Regions from separate parts of the Homo sapiens genome. Here regions 2 and 3 are each linked to region 1. Evidence: promoter capture Hi-C in 16 types of primary human blood cells and fetal thymus (Javierre and others, 2016). All regions are on one chromosome and are shown on one strand. Each heading gives the region's core, a stretch centred on a gene start or on the middle of the fragment in contact. The rest is flanking DNA. Distances are from core to core; before and after follow the strand shown.

Region 1 (4,650 bases), core at 2,034-4,533:
CTTGGGTCCCTGAAGGAAAGATGGAGCTGGGTGGGTCCAGACTCTTGGTTTGGGCGGAGAGGGGAGCTTGGGGTGCTGGAACACTCTCCCAAGGGTATGAAAGTTTGAAAAACGAGGACCCCCAGAGAAAGTATTGACAGGGTCTCATAGGCTTGCGATGTGGAGACTCGGACGCGTGGGCCTCCAGGTGCCCGGGTCCCGAGTTCTTTCTGATATATTTCTTCCTTCTTCAGTGCTGGGAGACTGTCCTGGGCCAGGAAATGTACAAACTTCTGCTCTTTGATCTGCTGACTGTCTTGGCAGTCGCGCTGCTCATCCAGTTTCCTAGAAAGTGAGAGCCCCGCCCCTTGCTGTGGCCCCGCCCCTCTAGGACGAGGCCGTGCCCCATCGCGCTGTTCTTTTCACCGCGCACCTTTTTACCATTCCCGCCTCTGCCTGCTCCCTTTGCTTGCCCTAGGTCCGCAGATCTCCCCGCTCCCCGCCCTTGTTTTAGTGGGTTACTTCCCTCTGGCCCCGACGGCGGCGACATCTGGGTCCCTTCTAGTCCTCAGGACCCGCCCTCTGGACACACCCCCTCCACGTGGAGTCCTGAAAGTCCCGCCCCCCCCCCCCCCACCACCAATACGCATGCTTCCTATTGGCGGGCGGGGCGGTGGAGGCGTGGAAACTCCAGGCCGCCACTCCCCTGACTCCGGCCCGGCCCCGCCCCGTCCTTCAGGCTCCTCTGTGGCCTCTGTCCTGGGGCGCTGGGTCGTCTGGCGGGGACCCAAGAGTTCCAGGTGCCCGACGAGGTGCTGGGGCTCATCTACGCGCAGACGGTGGTCTGGGTGGGGAGTTTTTTCTGCCCTTTACTGCCCCTGCTTAACACGGTCAAGTTCCTGCTGCTTTTCTACCTGAAGAAGGTAAGGGGTAGGGGGGACCCTTGGGTCTGAGGCAGGAGGTATTGGGGCCCGCACTCCTGGGTCAAGGGCAAGGAAGATCCTGGGGGCCTGGATTACTCGGTCCTGAGAGAGGAGGGGGTTGGAGGACAGACTACTGCATCTGAGAGGAGGGGTCTAGGGCATTCTGACTTATATGTCTGAGGATCTGGGGACTCAGACTCCGGGGTCCTAGATGAGGAAGGGGCTCAGACTCCTGGTTCGGAAAAAAGGAGAGGCAGGTAGGCCGGGTGCAGTGGCTCACGCCTGTAATCCCAGCACTTCGGGAGACTAAGGCGGGTGGATCACCTGAGGTCAGGAGTTTGAGACCAGCCTGGCTAACATGGCAAAACCCCGTCTCTACTAAAAATACAAAAAAAATTAGCCGGGCTTAGTGGCAGGCGCCTGTAATCCCAGCTACTCAGGAGGCTGAGGCAGGGGAATTGCTTGAACCAGGGAGGTGAAGGTCGAAGTGAGCCAAGATCGTGCCACTGCACTCCAGCCTGGGCGACAGAGCGAGACTCCGTCTCAAAAAGAGAAAACAAACAAACAACAACAACAGCAAAACAAATTAGCCGGGAGTGGTGGTGCACACCTGTAATCCCAGCTACTCGGGAGGCTGAGACACGAGAATAGCTTGAACCCGGGAGGGGAGGCTGCAGTGAGAGCCACTGCACTCCAGCCTGGGCGACAGAGCGAGACTCTGTCTCAAAAAAAAAAGCCTGGGCGACAGAGCGAGACTCTGTCTCAAAAAAAAAAAAAAAAAAAAATGGAGGCACAGACTCTTGTGTTTCAGAGCCCTTTTCTCCGTGCCTTCCCCCACCAGCTTACCCTCTTCTCCACCTGCTCCCCGGCTGCCCGCACCTTCCGGGCCTCCGCGGCGAATTTCTTTTTCCCCTTGGTCCTTCTCCTGGGTCTGGCCATCTCCAGCGTTCCCCTGCTTTACAGCATCTTCCTGTAAGTGCGAGAGGCTCCCGCCTCTCTCCCTCCCTCTCTCCCCATTCAGTGTTCAGACTCCTGGCACTATGTGAGCCCAGCCTGTCTTGACTTCAGGATCCCGCCTTCTAAGCTGTGTGGTCCATTCCGGGGGCAGTCGTCCATCTGGGCCCAGATCCCTGAGTCTATTTCCAGCCTCCCTGAGACCACCCAGAATTTCCTCTTCTTCCTGGGGACCCAGGCTTTTGCTGTGCCCCTTCTGCTGATCTCCAGGTGAGACGGCCCAGACTTCTGGGTCTGGGTTTGAATGCGTGTGATCTGGGGGCCACCACCTGCGTCCAAGAGAGGAGAGGCTTGGGCGTGGGAGCAGGCAACGTACTGAGTCTGAGGGAGGAGGCCTAGGCTCCTGGACTGCTGGGTCCGAAGGAGGAGGTGGGCGGGACGTAGGACTCCTGGATCTGAAGGCGGAGGGGCTGGGAGACTGAACTCCTTGAGCCCAGACGAGGAGGGGCTTAGGCGTCCACATCCCTGGCTTCGAAGGAGCCAGACGTTTGGATATAATGGAAGAGCGTGTCAGGAGTGGCTTCCGTTCCTGTCTCCTTCAGCATCCTGATGGCGTACACTGTGGCTCTGGCTAACTCCTACGGACGCCTCATCTCTGAGCTCAAACGTCAGAGAGAGACGGTGAGCCAGGCGGGTCCCTGAGAGGGCCCCTGGGGAACATGGAAAGGGGTTGGGGAAGAGGATTGTCTCACCTCCACCTCTCTTTGCCCCAGGAGGCGCAGAATAAAGTCTTCCTGGCACGGCGCGCTGTGGCGCTGACCTCCACCAAACCGGCTCTTTGACCCCCGCAGCCCACGTCCCGCTTTCAGACCCCAGGCCCATTGTAAGCCTAGGTCACAACATCTGTAAACTAGGAGAACTGGAGAAGACTCCACGCCCTTCCAGCTTTGGTATCTGGAGATTTCCAGGGCCCCTCGCCGCCACGTCCCTGACTCTCGGGTGATCTTCCTTGTATCAATAAATACAGCCGAGGTTGCTGAGCGCGCTTTGAAATCTGCGTCCTGAAGGTGGGGGCAGGGCTACAGCGGGGCAGGAGCCAATCAAATGTACGGGCATGTTTGTCGGTGCAGAGCGCTCTTCCGCAAGGAGACTTGTCGGTCATGTCGGCCAATCGACGGCCGCATCTGGTAGCATCAGGGGCGGGCCAACTTATGATTGGTTCAGATCTGTGACAAGAGGCGGTTGCTAGGGGATACCACGAGCCGAACGCCTAGCATTCGCTGTGATAAAGGGCGTCTCAGCCAATCACCTGTCGCTACAGGCCAGGGGGCCGTACCAACTAATTCGGAACCAATCCGCGGTCGAAGTAGGGACAAGAAAAAGGGGGGCATCCTCTCGCCAATCGGAAGTGCAAAGAGGCGGGCGTGCCAGTCCCTGGACAGCTACGACGCCATGAATATCTTGCCCAAGAAGAGCTGGCACGTCCGGAACAAGGACAATGTCGCCCGCGTGCGGCGTGACGAGGCCCAGGCCCGGGAGGAGGAGAAGGAGCGTGAGCGGAGGGTGCTGCTGGCTCAGCAAGAGGTAAGCTCGGAAGCCGGCAGGGCGGCGCTCCGGGGCCCAGCGCGCAGGCGCCGCGGTTGGGGGCCGGAAGCGGAGGCGTTGCGCAGGCTCAATGTGCCCCGTGTGAAATTCGGGACCAGGCGCCGATCCCACTTTCGAGGACGTTGCCCCGCAAACCTTGTGCCCACTTCCACGAAACCTTCCTTGATCTCGCCCTCGTCTTAGTTTTTCCCCCACTGATGTATTTCACATGGCTGGAACAGTGTCTAGCACAAAAGAGAAGCTTAACATTTAATGAATCCGTGAACCCTTGGACAGTTCAAGGAAATTCGGATCACTTTTTAGTTTGCCTGCACAGCCTATTTATTGAGCATCTACTGTATGCTAACTACATGCCGTGCACCTGACTTGCGGAATCCCCAATAAGCACTGTTCGTTCTTAGAGGGGCACTGTCATCTCTGTTGCACGAAGTGAGATGGCTTCAGTGAGGGGAAGGCACATTTTAAGGAGAGGCGGACAGCCAGGCTCCACGCCATCGGGCGAGCCCTTTCGTGCACCGCCCCCTAGACACATACACACAAACACGGGCTTTCCGTATGGCTCTTTAAATCTGTTTGGTGTACACCCAACTTTCATTTCCTTAGCTAGTCTGATCCTCCGCCGTGGGTGGGAGGTAGTCTAGGTTTTTAGAATCTCAGTAGGCTGCTGAGCGCTGTTTGAAATCCGCGTCCTGAAGGCAGGGGACAGGGCTTCAGCAGACTTGGGGTAGTCACTTGGAGCCATGGCTAGAATTCAGATCGTCTGGCCTAATGCATACCTTTATGGCTGTTTTAATTGTCTCACTTGAGGTTAGGAACCCCTTTGGTTTAGGCCAGGGACCTCCTCCCATACATCCTTGATGACCCGTGGTTTACTATTTGAAAGGGAGTTTACAAAACCCAGGCGTTGCCTCATCTGCCTACCCTCACCCCCAGCTAGGACAGGTGCCTCTTTTAGGCGCCTAGTGCTCCCTTTCTCATAACCCCAGCACCCTGGACTGCCATTTTCTGTGGTGGGCACCAGACTCACAGTTCTTGAATTACCTCTAGGTTCTGAATGTCCTGCCTATAACTTTCTCCCCAGGCCCGTACAGAATTCCTACGGAAGAAAGCCAGACATCAGAACTCACTGCCTGAGCTTGAAGCAGCAGAGGCGGGAGCCCCAGGTTCTGGCCCTGTGGACCTGTTTCGG
Region 2 (4,868 bases), core at 1,601-4,100, 3.8 Mb after region 1:
ATGTAGAGGGGAAGTACAAGGGTTTAAAATTTATTTATTGTATTTATTTATTTATTTTAGATACAGGGTCTTGCTTTGTTGCCCAGGCTGGGAGTGCAGTTGCAAGATCATAGCTCACTGTAGCTGTAGACTTGAACTCCTGGGCTCAACCAATCCTCCCGCTTCAGCCTCCTAAGAAGCTGGGATTATAGGTGTGTGCCACCACACCTGGCTAATTTTTGTATTTTTAGTAGAGACAGCGTTTCAACATGTTGCCCAGGCTGGTCTCGAACTCCTGAGCTCAAGTAATCTGCCTGCTTTTGCCTCCCACAGTGCTGGGATTATAGGCGTGAGCCATGGTGCCTGGCCAACAGGTGTCAATTTTGAGTCACACTTATTAATATTTTCCCCCATGATTTTTGATCCTGCCTTCATGCTTAGAAAAGCTTTCCTCAGGCCAGGCACGGTGGCTCATGCTGTTGTGGCTCAGGCCGAGGCAGGCAGATCATGAAGTAAAGAGATCAAGACCATCCTGGCCAACACAGTGAAACTCTGTCTACAAAAATTAGCTGGTGGCACGTGCCTGTAATCCCATCTACTCAGGAGGCTGAGGCAGGAGAATCACTTGAACCTGGGAGGCAAAAGCGGCAGTGAGCCGAGATCACACCACTGCACTCCATCCTGGTGACAGAGCAAGACTCTGTCTCAGCCGGGCGCGGTGGCTCACACCTGTAATCCCAGCACTTTGGGAGGCTGAGGCAGGTGGATCACCTGAGGTCAGGAGTTCGAGAGCAACCTGGCCAACATTGCGAAACCCCGTCTCAACCAAAAATACAAAAATTAGCTGGGCGTGGTGGTGCGCGCCTGTAGTCCCAGCTACTCGGGAGGCTGAGGCAGGAGAATCACTGGAACCCAGGAGGCAGAGGTTGCAGGAAAAAAAAGTGAAATTAAGATTTGATGCTTACGTTTTTCCGCAAGGGTGGGGAAATAGTCTCCAACATCATGAACTGAAGCATGCAAGGGCCACCATCCGAGGGCTTCTGCAAAGGTCAGATTTCATGTTAGGGTCTTGGGAAAACTTTGAGAATGTCAATTCCCTGGGAATGGCTTATTTTAAGGACTTGGATACCATTGGGAAGTTCTGTTTGGGATGGTTTGTTCCTGTAAAGTCTTTGGGGATATCTGTCATCATGGTTTCTGTGCTAGGGTTTCCCGGAGGTTGTTATTGTAGGGTTTCTGGTAATGACTCCTATTGTAGCGCCTTGGAAATGTTGAATTTGTCATCATATTCCATTTGGGTAAGTCTATTTTAGAGGGTCTCCAGGAAGGGCGGCTTCCTAATTCTCATCATCTTCATACCCTACAGGATCCCTCTTCGTCAAGTCCACCCTGGACGCAGGACCCTGAACCTACTGAGGGGATGGGGAAAACCAGCAGAGCTCCCCAAGTTGGGGGCCCCATCCCCTGGGGACAAGCCTGCCTCGGTACCTCTCTCCAAATTCCTGGATGTGAGTCACAGCCCTACACAGCCCCCACTCCTGTGCCCTTGAGCCAAACTCTTCATTGACTCTGTCTCTTCTTTTGCCTCCTCAGGCCCAGTATTTTGGGGAAATTGGGCTGGGAACGCCTCCACAAAACTTCACTGTTGCCTTTGACACTGGCTCCTCCAATCTCTGGGTCCCGTCCAGGAGATGCCACTTCTTCAGTGTGCCCTGCTGTGAGCTTCTATGTGGGAGAATAAGGCTGAATGGGGGTGAAGGGAGAAGGCGGGGCTGGGCCTCAGCTTCCCAAAGGTTTTTGAGGAACTGTTCTTTTCTGACACCCTCAAAGGTCAGAAGGTTAAAGGGGCAGAAGGCATTCGGAAAGCTCCCCTCCCACAGTGACACCTCTCTGACTTCTGACCTAGGGTTCCACCACCGCTTCAATCCCAATGCCTCCAGCTCCTTCAAGCCCAGTGGGACCAAGTTTGCCATTCAGTATGGAACTGGGCGGGTAGATGGAATCCTGAGTGAGGACAAGCTGACTGTGAGTGGCCTTTGACTCCAGGAAGCCTCGAGCCTGGGAGAACCCTGTTGTCTAAGATCATCTGGCTTAGGGAGGGGCTTGAGGTGCAGGGGCTTCCTGAGCCGATGGATGGGGCTTCTCAAGGAGGGGGAGGGGTTCCTGGGTGAAGGGATAGGAATTCTCTCAAGTCCAGAGGCAAAGTTTGCTAAGCAGTTGGGGGCTTGGGTCCAGATGTCCCCAGACCTGGGATTAATGCTTTGGTTTGGGAGACCTCAGGACATGTGGTTATTGTCCTCCCAAAAGTAACTGGTCACATCTCAATCTACCCCTAGATTGGTGGAATCAAGGGTGCATCCGTGATTTTCGGGGAAGCTCTGTGGGAATCCAGCCTGGTCTTCACTGTTTCCCGCCCCGATGGGATATTGGGCCTCGGTTTTCCCATTCTGTCTGTGGAAGGAGTTCGGCCCCCGCTGGATGTACTGGTGGAGCAGGGGCTATTGGATAAGCCTGTCTTCTCCTTTTACTTCAACAGGTGCTGGGGAGGGTGCACCTATCTATGAGTCCTATTCCTCAGAAGGAAGTGAGGCCCTCCTTCAGGAAGTCTCTTACTCCATAAAGAAAGTCCCAGTTCAGGCACGGTGGCTCATGCCCGTAATCCCAGCAATTTGGGAGGCTGAGGCAGATTGATCACCTGAAGTCAAGAGTTCCAGACCAGCCTGGCTAACATGGTGAAACCCCATCTGTACTAAAACTATAAAAATTAGCTGGGTGCGGTGGCACATGCCTGTAATCCCAGCTACTTGAGAGGCTGAGGCAGGAGAATTGCTTGAATCCGGGAGGTGGAGGTTGCAGTGAGCCGAGATCGCACCACTGCTCTCCAGTCTGGGTGACAGAGAGAGACCGTCTCCAAAAAAAAAAAAAAAAAAAAAAAATCAATCCCACCCTTCATTCAGGAAGTAGCCACCTACCTAACAGAAGAAACACCTCAACCCTATTCATAAGCCCCAGAGCTTAAGTGACAACTTAAGACATATTAAAGAAACTCACCAACAGTTCAATATGCTGAGTTTCAAAATCAAACTAGGAAATTCTATGCCCCACCCAACCAAATACTCAGGAACCTTCTCTTCACCATAAAGCTCAAATCCCATTTGAGAACACTGACCAGAAGTCAGGAAATGCCTGATTGAATTCACGAAGCCCCACCCACCTGGTAGGAAGGTCAATCTTATGCTCAGAAGTCCCACCCACCACCCGAGAAGTCTTCACTTTCCCTCCCAGGGCCCATCACACACAGTCCAATGCCCACTCAGTTACCCTGACATCCAACCCACTCAAGAAGTTCCACCTAGCTCTCGGTAGGTCCCACTCATTTACATCTTCCAGGAAGTTTCCATCCCCGTTCCCATCACTCTCAGCCAGCTCAGGAAGTCTAACACCTTTCTAGATACCACAACAGGCAATTCAGAAAGTCTATGCACCTTCCCAGGAAGCCACCCCACTCCTGTACAAGTCACACCTTCGAGCCAATTCTGAGACTCCACTGGTCTGCTTGGTTACTATGATATTCAGCTCAGGAATTTCCCCCAAAAGCTCTACCTTCCACAGCCAAATGAAGAAGTCTCCTCTCCACTTCAGGAAGTATCCATCATCCTAAAGTCCTAACTTCCATCAAGAAAAGCACCATTTCCCTTCATTTCTTGTTTCCAGTCCCAACATCTCGGCCCTGCCTGCATTCCACTGCCCCAACTAGAACCCCAAAAATGACCCAATTGGCAGGAAGTCCCATCCCTGGCCATTCCTAGGGCTGGCGGGGGAGGGCTGGCGACAATGACCTCTACACTCTGCCCCTGCAGGGACCCTGAAGTGGCTGATGGAGGAGAGCTGGTCCTGGGGGGCTCAGACCCGGCACACTACATCCCACCCCTCACCTTCGTGCCAGTCACAGTCCCCGCCTACTGGCAGATCCACATGGAGCGGTGAGGGACTTGGTCTCCTGGGTCTGGAGCTGGAGGCCTGGACTCCTAGGACCCTGCCTCTAATGACTGCTTCCTTCCCCCTCAGTGTGAAGGTGGGCTCACGGCTGACTCTCTGTGCCCAGGGCTGTGCTGCCATCCTGGATACAGGCACACCTGTCATCGTAGGACCCACTGAGGAGATCCGGGCCCTGCATGCAGCCATTGGGGGAATCCCCTTGCTGGCTGGGGAGGTGAGGTCCCAGTCTCTGGTGGGTGTGTCCTGGGGAAGATGATGGCAATTCCATGGCGAACACTGCGGCCTGAGGATGGGAAGCAGGTAGCTAGAGCGTATCCAGGACAGAGGGGACTGGGCTTCTTAAGTGACATGCCAGAGAGTGGTGGGAGGAAGCAAAGATACTTCCCAAGTGTCTATGCTAAGTGGCTCAGTGGATGGTGAAGTAGGGGTGGGAGTGGGGGGGGGGTTGTTGGGGGAGATGATAATGCAGTTTTGTTTGGGACTAGATGAGAGGAGCCTAGGCAACAGGGCTGTCCACACACGGTGCTGAATACCCAGGTGCTCAATATGAACATTACTCCATGGCACTGGGGAGCCACGGACGGGATTTGAGCAGAGCAGGAATCTCCCATCTTCACTTGTTCCTCTCCTCCACCAGTACATCATCCGGTGCTCAGAAATCCCAAAGCTCCCCGCAGTCTCACTCCTCATTGGGGGGGTCTGGTTTAATCTCACGGCCCAGGATTACGTCATCCAGGTAGGTGTCCGTCATAATGACGCCACAGTGATGTAATATGACTGGAGTTGAGAGGGTGGAGCTGGTAGTTGGACATCACTAGGGCCGGAAGGGGCCACAGAAACATTTCTTGTCCCCGGGGTTGGGGGCGGAGAGAGCACGGACTCCCAGGGAA
Region 3 (4,503 bases), core at 1-2,500, 4.3 Mb after region 1:
AACTAGATGCGAATGCTGCAGGAAGGGGCGAAGGCAGTGGAGTGAAGGGGTACGTTTAAGTTGTGGGAGGTGATCTAAGTCTCGGTATCCATGTTTATGACCCCAGGAAGCCTGTTTAAGGTTTCAGTAGGGCTGCCACAGCTCTGTGCCATCCACACCGCTGAGGCAGTGTATTTAAGAAGCGGACCCGAGCGCGAACCCAGGGGAAATCTCACATCGGGGCAAGCGTGTGCACGGTGCAAAGTCGCGATGTGCGGTTTTACAGCCCCAGGTAAACCTTACGGTTTCTGAAAAGCATGTGCATCTTTTGGGTCCGGAGAAGCGTGTGCAGCCCAAAGTACCTGCGAAGCTGAATGTTTACGTTTAAGGTCTGGGCTCACGGCAGTCCATCAAAGCATCCCACATGTGGGCGCGGGCGCGTATTCTAGGTGCGCACTCCACGGGCACGGAGCGGCCGCCAGGGGAGAACGCCCACGGGTGCGACATCTGGGGGCGCTGGTACAAAGCGCGGGCCCCTCCCTCGCCGCTGTCCCCCAAAACCGCCCCCATTTCCAGGTTTCCTGCCCGGAGAGCGAGCAACTCTCCAATAGGAAAAACAAGCGAGCGTGCCGGCTGCCTGTCTGCCGCCCCCAGCCCGCGTTTAAATCGGGCCGCGGAGTCAGCAGTAATATGAGCCCGCCCCGCCCCCGTCCCCCAACCCCCCACCCCGGCCCGAACGCGCAACAAAGGGGAGAGCGCGGCGCGAACCACCGGGTGCTCCACGGGGGAACCCGGCCCCGGGCGGGACCACCCTTCGGGCCACAGGGGACACCCCGGAGCGGCGGGGGCTGCGGACAAAGGCGTGAGCCCGGGATAGGGGCTGGGGGGGCGGGGCCGTGGAAGGCTCTGGAAAAAGGGCGGGGGGCTCACCATGGGAGGGGCCGAGCGGGCCCGGATCCGCGGAGGCTGCGGGCCTCGGGGGCTGGCAGGCCAGGAGCGCGAGCGGACGGCGCGCACCACGAGGGGCCGCGGAGGGCGGCCGCGACCCCCGAGGGGGCCCCCGGCGCCGGAGCGGTACGGGGCACGGCGCGGACGGACCATGGCGGGCGCGGGCCGAGCGGGCGGGGAGCTGCCGCGGGCCACAAGGGGGGCTGCGGGCTCCACCGACTGAGGGGCGCGGGCGCGGGCGCGCGGCTTCGGGGGAGACGGGCTGAGCCGTACCAAGCTCGGGGGACGCGCCGCCGGAGTGGGGTCGCCGCGGCCGAACCACTGAGGCGAGCGGGGGAGCCCGGCGCGTACCAAGCGCGTCCGAGGGGGCGTGGCCGGAGCGTACCAAGGCGGCGCGGGGGAGCGGGGCCCGGGCGGGAGCGGAGTGTGGGCTCGGCGGTCCTGCGGGCCTCTCCGGCGCGGGGGAGTCCTGGGAAGACGCGCGAGCCACAACTTCAGGGGGCGTGGCGGGAACGGGAGCCCCTACCGAATGGGGTGGCAGAAGAACGAAGGCGACACCAAGCTGGCCCCTTGCGGGGGTCGGGACGGCGGGAGACCTCATCCGGAGCCCTGGGCCCGCAGAGCCAGGAGACCGCGCCAAAATACATCAGGGAAGAGGGGAGGACGGAATAATGGGCCTGGGGACAAAGGAACCCACTGAAAGGGAACCCACTGAGGGTACGGATTGCACCCGAGCCTGAGACAGCTGAAGGTTTGCAGTCGGTGACGTGGCGAGGTGGGCAAGGGACTCCAACTCCCAGCGGGCCCCGCGCGGCCTGGGCGGGGCCAGCTGTCCCTGGAGGCTCCGCCCATTAGCCCCGGCGCCCAGGCTCCGCCCGCCGTCCCTGGCGACTCCAAGCTTCTCGCCACTCACGTCGCTCCCCGGCCTTCCGTGGATTCGCTCATTCGCTCTGCTAAAATGGAATGACTACTTACTAGTAGTTGTATAAGATTTTTCCCTCGATTTTTGTTCCTTAAACGTGGGTAATACCTAACCCTAGAGTGGTTATGGGGATCGAGCCCGAGGGGCTGTGCTTGACTGCTTGGCGCAGTCACTACTCAAATGTTAGCTTTTCTTTAAAAACAACAACAAAAATCTGTTATGAGTACCCTGTCCAGTTCTGTGCTCGGCGACGACCGAATCAGACCACGTCCCTCACAGGCCCCACGGTCCACTGGGGAGAGACATAATCACAGGCTGTGCTAAGTGTTAACTAGCGCACATCCACAGGGCGATGGGATATGACCATAGCGAGGTAAAGTTAGCAAGCAAGGGAAGTCAAGAAAACGACCTGTGAGCAACCTGCCATTCCAGATGGCTGGAAAAGTGTGCAAAGAGGACAGAACAGCAAAGACAAATCCTGAAAGTAGAAGGAATAAAAGGGAGCCAGTGTGGGCGGAGTCGAGTGAAGGTAGAGAGGAGAAATAGACACAGCTGTAGGAGGTTAGAGACGGAGTCCCTACTTCTGTTTCGGATGTTGACTAAACAATGTAGATAGATATTGATGTCATAGCCTGGAGAGAGAAATTCGGGAGTCATCAGTGTTTGAATGGAGACTGGATGAGCTCACAAAGAGACTGGGACACTCATCCCTTTAGCAGTCACGACAATGAGAAGCAACCAGCAAAGGACACGGAGGAGTGGCCAGTGAAATGGCAGAAGAACCCGTAGGCCTGTCCATGTTTTCCTGCCCAGGGGCTCCCGAGGGCTGACTGGAGCCCAGCCTTAAACCCCAAATCCAACCTGCATTGTGGCCAAACGGAGTCAGTGCTCCCTGAACACAAACTGCAAGTTAGTTATCAACAGGTACCTCCAATGCCCTGTCAATCACCCATGTGAGGACAACCTGGCAGCAGGAAGGAGAAAAAACAGGAGCTGCTTTAATCTCCCGGAATCCTCACTTCTCCCCATTCTTGTTGGTCCAAACCATCAAGATCTCTTGCCTGGGTGACGTCTCCTAACTCTTGCTGCCTTCTCTGTCACTACAATAATCAAAACCATCCAATGGCTTCCCAGTGCCTTTAGAATTAAATCCAAACTTGGTACTGTGGCCCCTGCTGCCGCCCCCCAAAAAATCTCTCTCCCATCCTTCCTGTTCTCTACCTGTTAATGCCTTCCCATCCCTCAGAACCCATCAGGACACACGTGAGTTTGAATGCCCTGAATTGTATAAGCATGGAGAGCGGTATACCAGGGTGTACTCCAGAGTGAGCAAAATGGGAACTCATGTCAGAAAGTGAAATGAAAATGTAGGCTGAAATTCTATCAGTAATACTGCAACAAAACTCTCTGAAACCATCTCACTTAACTCGGTCCACCAACTTGAAAGACACTTTCCTTTTCATCTGTGAAGCCCACTGCTGGGGCTAGCAGGCTACTATTATGACTAAGCAATTCCACTTCCATCTCTCAAGCTGTTTACTTCCTGAAAGGTAGCTGTTTGATCCAAACCTGTTTATGCCAGAAGTTCTTGTTTAATTTACTATCAAACTAATGAAATTAATGCAAGACAGTTGTTTATACACAAACCAGATTGCTTGCTTTGGAAAGACTAAAAGGGAGTTGTTAAAAGAAAAACATGCCAGGCGTGGTGGCTCACACCTGTAATTCTGCACTTTGGGAAGCCGAGGTGGGCAGATCACTTCAGGTCAGGAGTTCAAGACCAGTCTGGCCAACATGGTGAAACACCGTCTCCACTAAAAATACAAAAGTTAACCGGGCATGGTGGTGTATGCCTGTAGTCCCAGCTACTCTGGAGGCTAAGGCAGGAGAATCGATTGAACCCAGGGGGTGGAGGTTGCAGTGAGCTGAGATCTCACCACTGCAACTCCAGCCTGAGCAACAAAGCAAGACTCCATCTCTTAAAAAAAAAAAAATGCTGCCAAGTTAGGTACAAGTAAAGCAACTGTAAATTATTTAATGAAAAAGCTTATAAAAACCTAGGAAGACTCAGCCCCCAGTTTGTTTCATAAATGTCTTTAGGTTCTCAAGCCACTTAAAAAAATGACTCATTGTGGTTTGTGGGTGGAGCTTATACAAGAATGTGATGTTCTACTGGGCGCAGTGGCTCATGCCCGTAATCCCAACACATTGGGAGGCTGAGGTGGGAAGATTGCTTGAGCCCAGGAGCTCGAGACCAGCCTGGGCAACACAGTGAGACTCCCACCTCTACAAAAACAACAATAATTTTCTAGGCATGGTGGCATGCACCTGTGGTCCCAGCTACTCAGGAGGCTGAGGTGGGAGGATCTCTTGAGTCCAGGAGATTGAGGCTGTAGTGAGCCGTGTTCACACCACTGCACTTCAGTCCAAGTGACAAAGTGAGACCCTGTCTCAAAAACAAGAATGTAATGTCGTGTGCTAACTAGGAGACCAATACTGAAAGAAAGGGTCTTGGTCCTACGTACAAGAGATGTCTGTTTAAATGTTCTTGGTTAAAATAAGATGTTTAAAGTGTTAAGATGGCCGTTAGTGCTATTTGCCATATATTTCTAGCTCCACACTTGGCCAGCATTTGACCCCATTTAGCTTGAGTG

Evidence for each region. The method cuts DNA at HindIII sites, captures the fragments that hold promoters and counts their contacts. A CHiCAGO score of 5 or more calls a contact.
Region 2: a fragment that was not itself captured here is called in contact with the fragment with the promoter of LENG1 in region 1 in 1 of 17 cell types (activated CD4 T cells); the score reaches 6.2 in activated CD4 T cells.
Region 3: a contact is called between the fragment with the promoter of PTOV1 here and the fragment with the promoter of LENG1 in region 1, in 2 of 17 cell types (fetal thymus and non-activated CD4 T cells). The highest score is 5.5, in fetal thymus.

The regions. Positions count from the first base shown.
Region 1 is chr19:54,158,354-54,163,003 of GRCh38, reverse strand. It overlaps LENG1 (leukocyte receptor cluster member 1), which reads left to right and starts at 3,283. Exons shown (of 4, transcript NM_024316.3): 1 at 3,283-3,440; 2 at 4,543-4,650. The coding sequence starts at 3,309. It overlaps TMC4 (transmembrane channel like 4), which reads left to right. Exons shown (of 15, transcript NM_144686.4): 10 at 234-331; 11 at 719-902; 12 at 1,744-1,874; 13 at 1,971-2,126; 14 at 2,459-2,537; 15 at 2,630-2,896. The coding sequence ends at 2,698. RefSeq lists an enhancer at 3,281-3,950. The HindIII fragment of the contact is 1,716 bases long and covers 1,989-3,704 here.
Region 2 is chr19:50,334,153-50,339,020 of GRCh38, reverse strand. It overlaps LOC105372437 (a long non-coding RNA gene), which reads right to left. Exons shown (of 4, transcript XR_007067299.1): 2 at 945-1,019. It also overlaps the pseudogene NAPSB. Among named protein-coding and RNA genes, the nearest start is that of KCNC3, 7.2 kb to the right of the region's middle. RefSeq lists an enhancer at 4,451-4,868. The HindIII fragment of the contact is 4,846 bases long and covers 428-4,868 here.
Region 3 is chr19:49,847,906-49,852,408 of GRCh38, reverse strand. It overlaps PTOV1 (PTOV1 extended AT-hook containing adaptor protein), which reads right to left and starts at 1,250. Exons shown (of 12, transcript NM_001394010.1): 1 at 910-1,250. The coding sequence starts at 1,080. PTOV1-AS1 (PTOV1 antisense RNA 1) reads left to right here and starts at 733. Exons shown (of 4, transcript NR_040037.1): 1 at 733-841. RefSeq lists silencers at 1,052-1,341, 1,782-1,861 and enhancers at 1,442-1,551, 3,353-3,432. The HindIII fragment of the contact is 14,157 bases long and covers 1-1,827 here.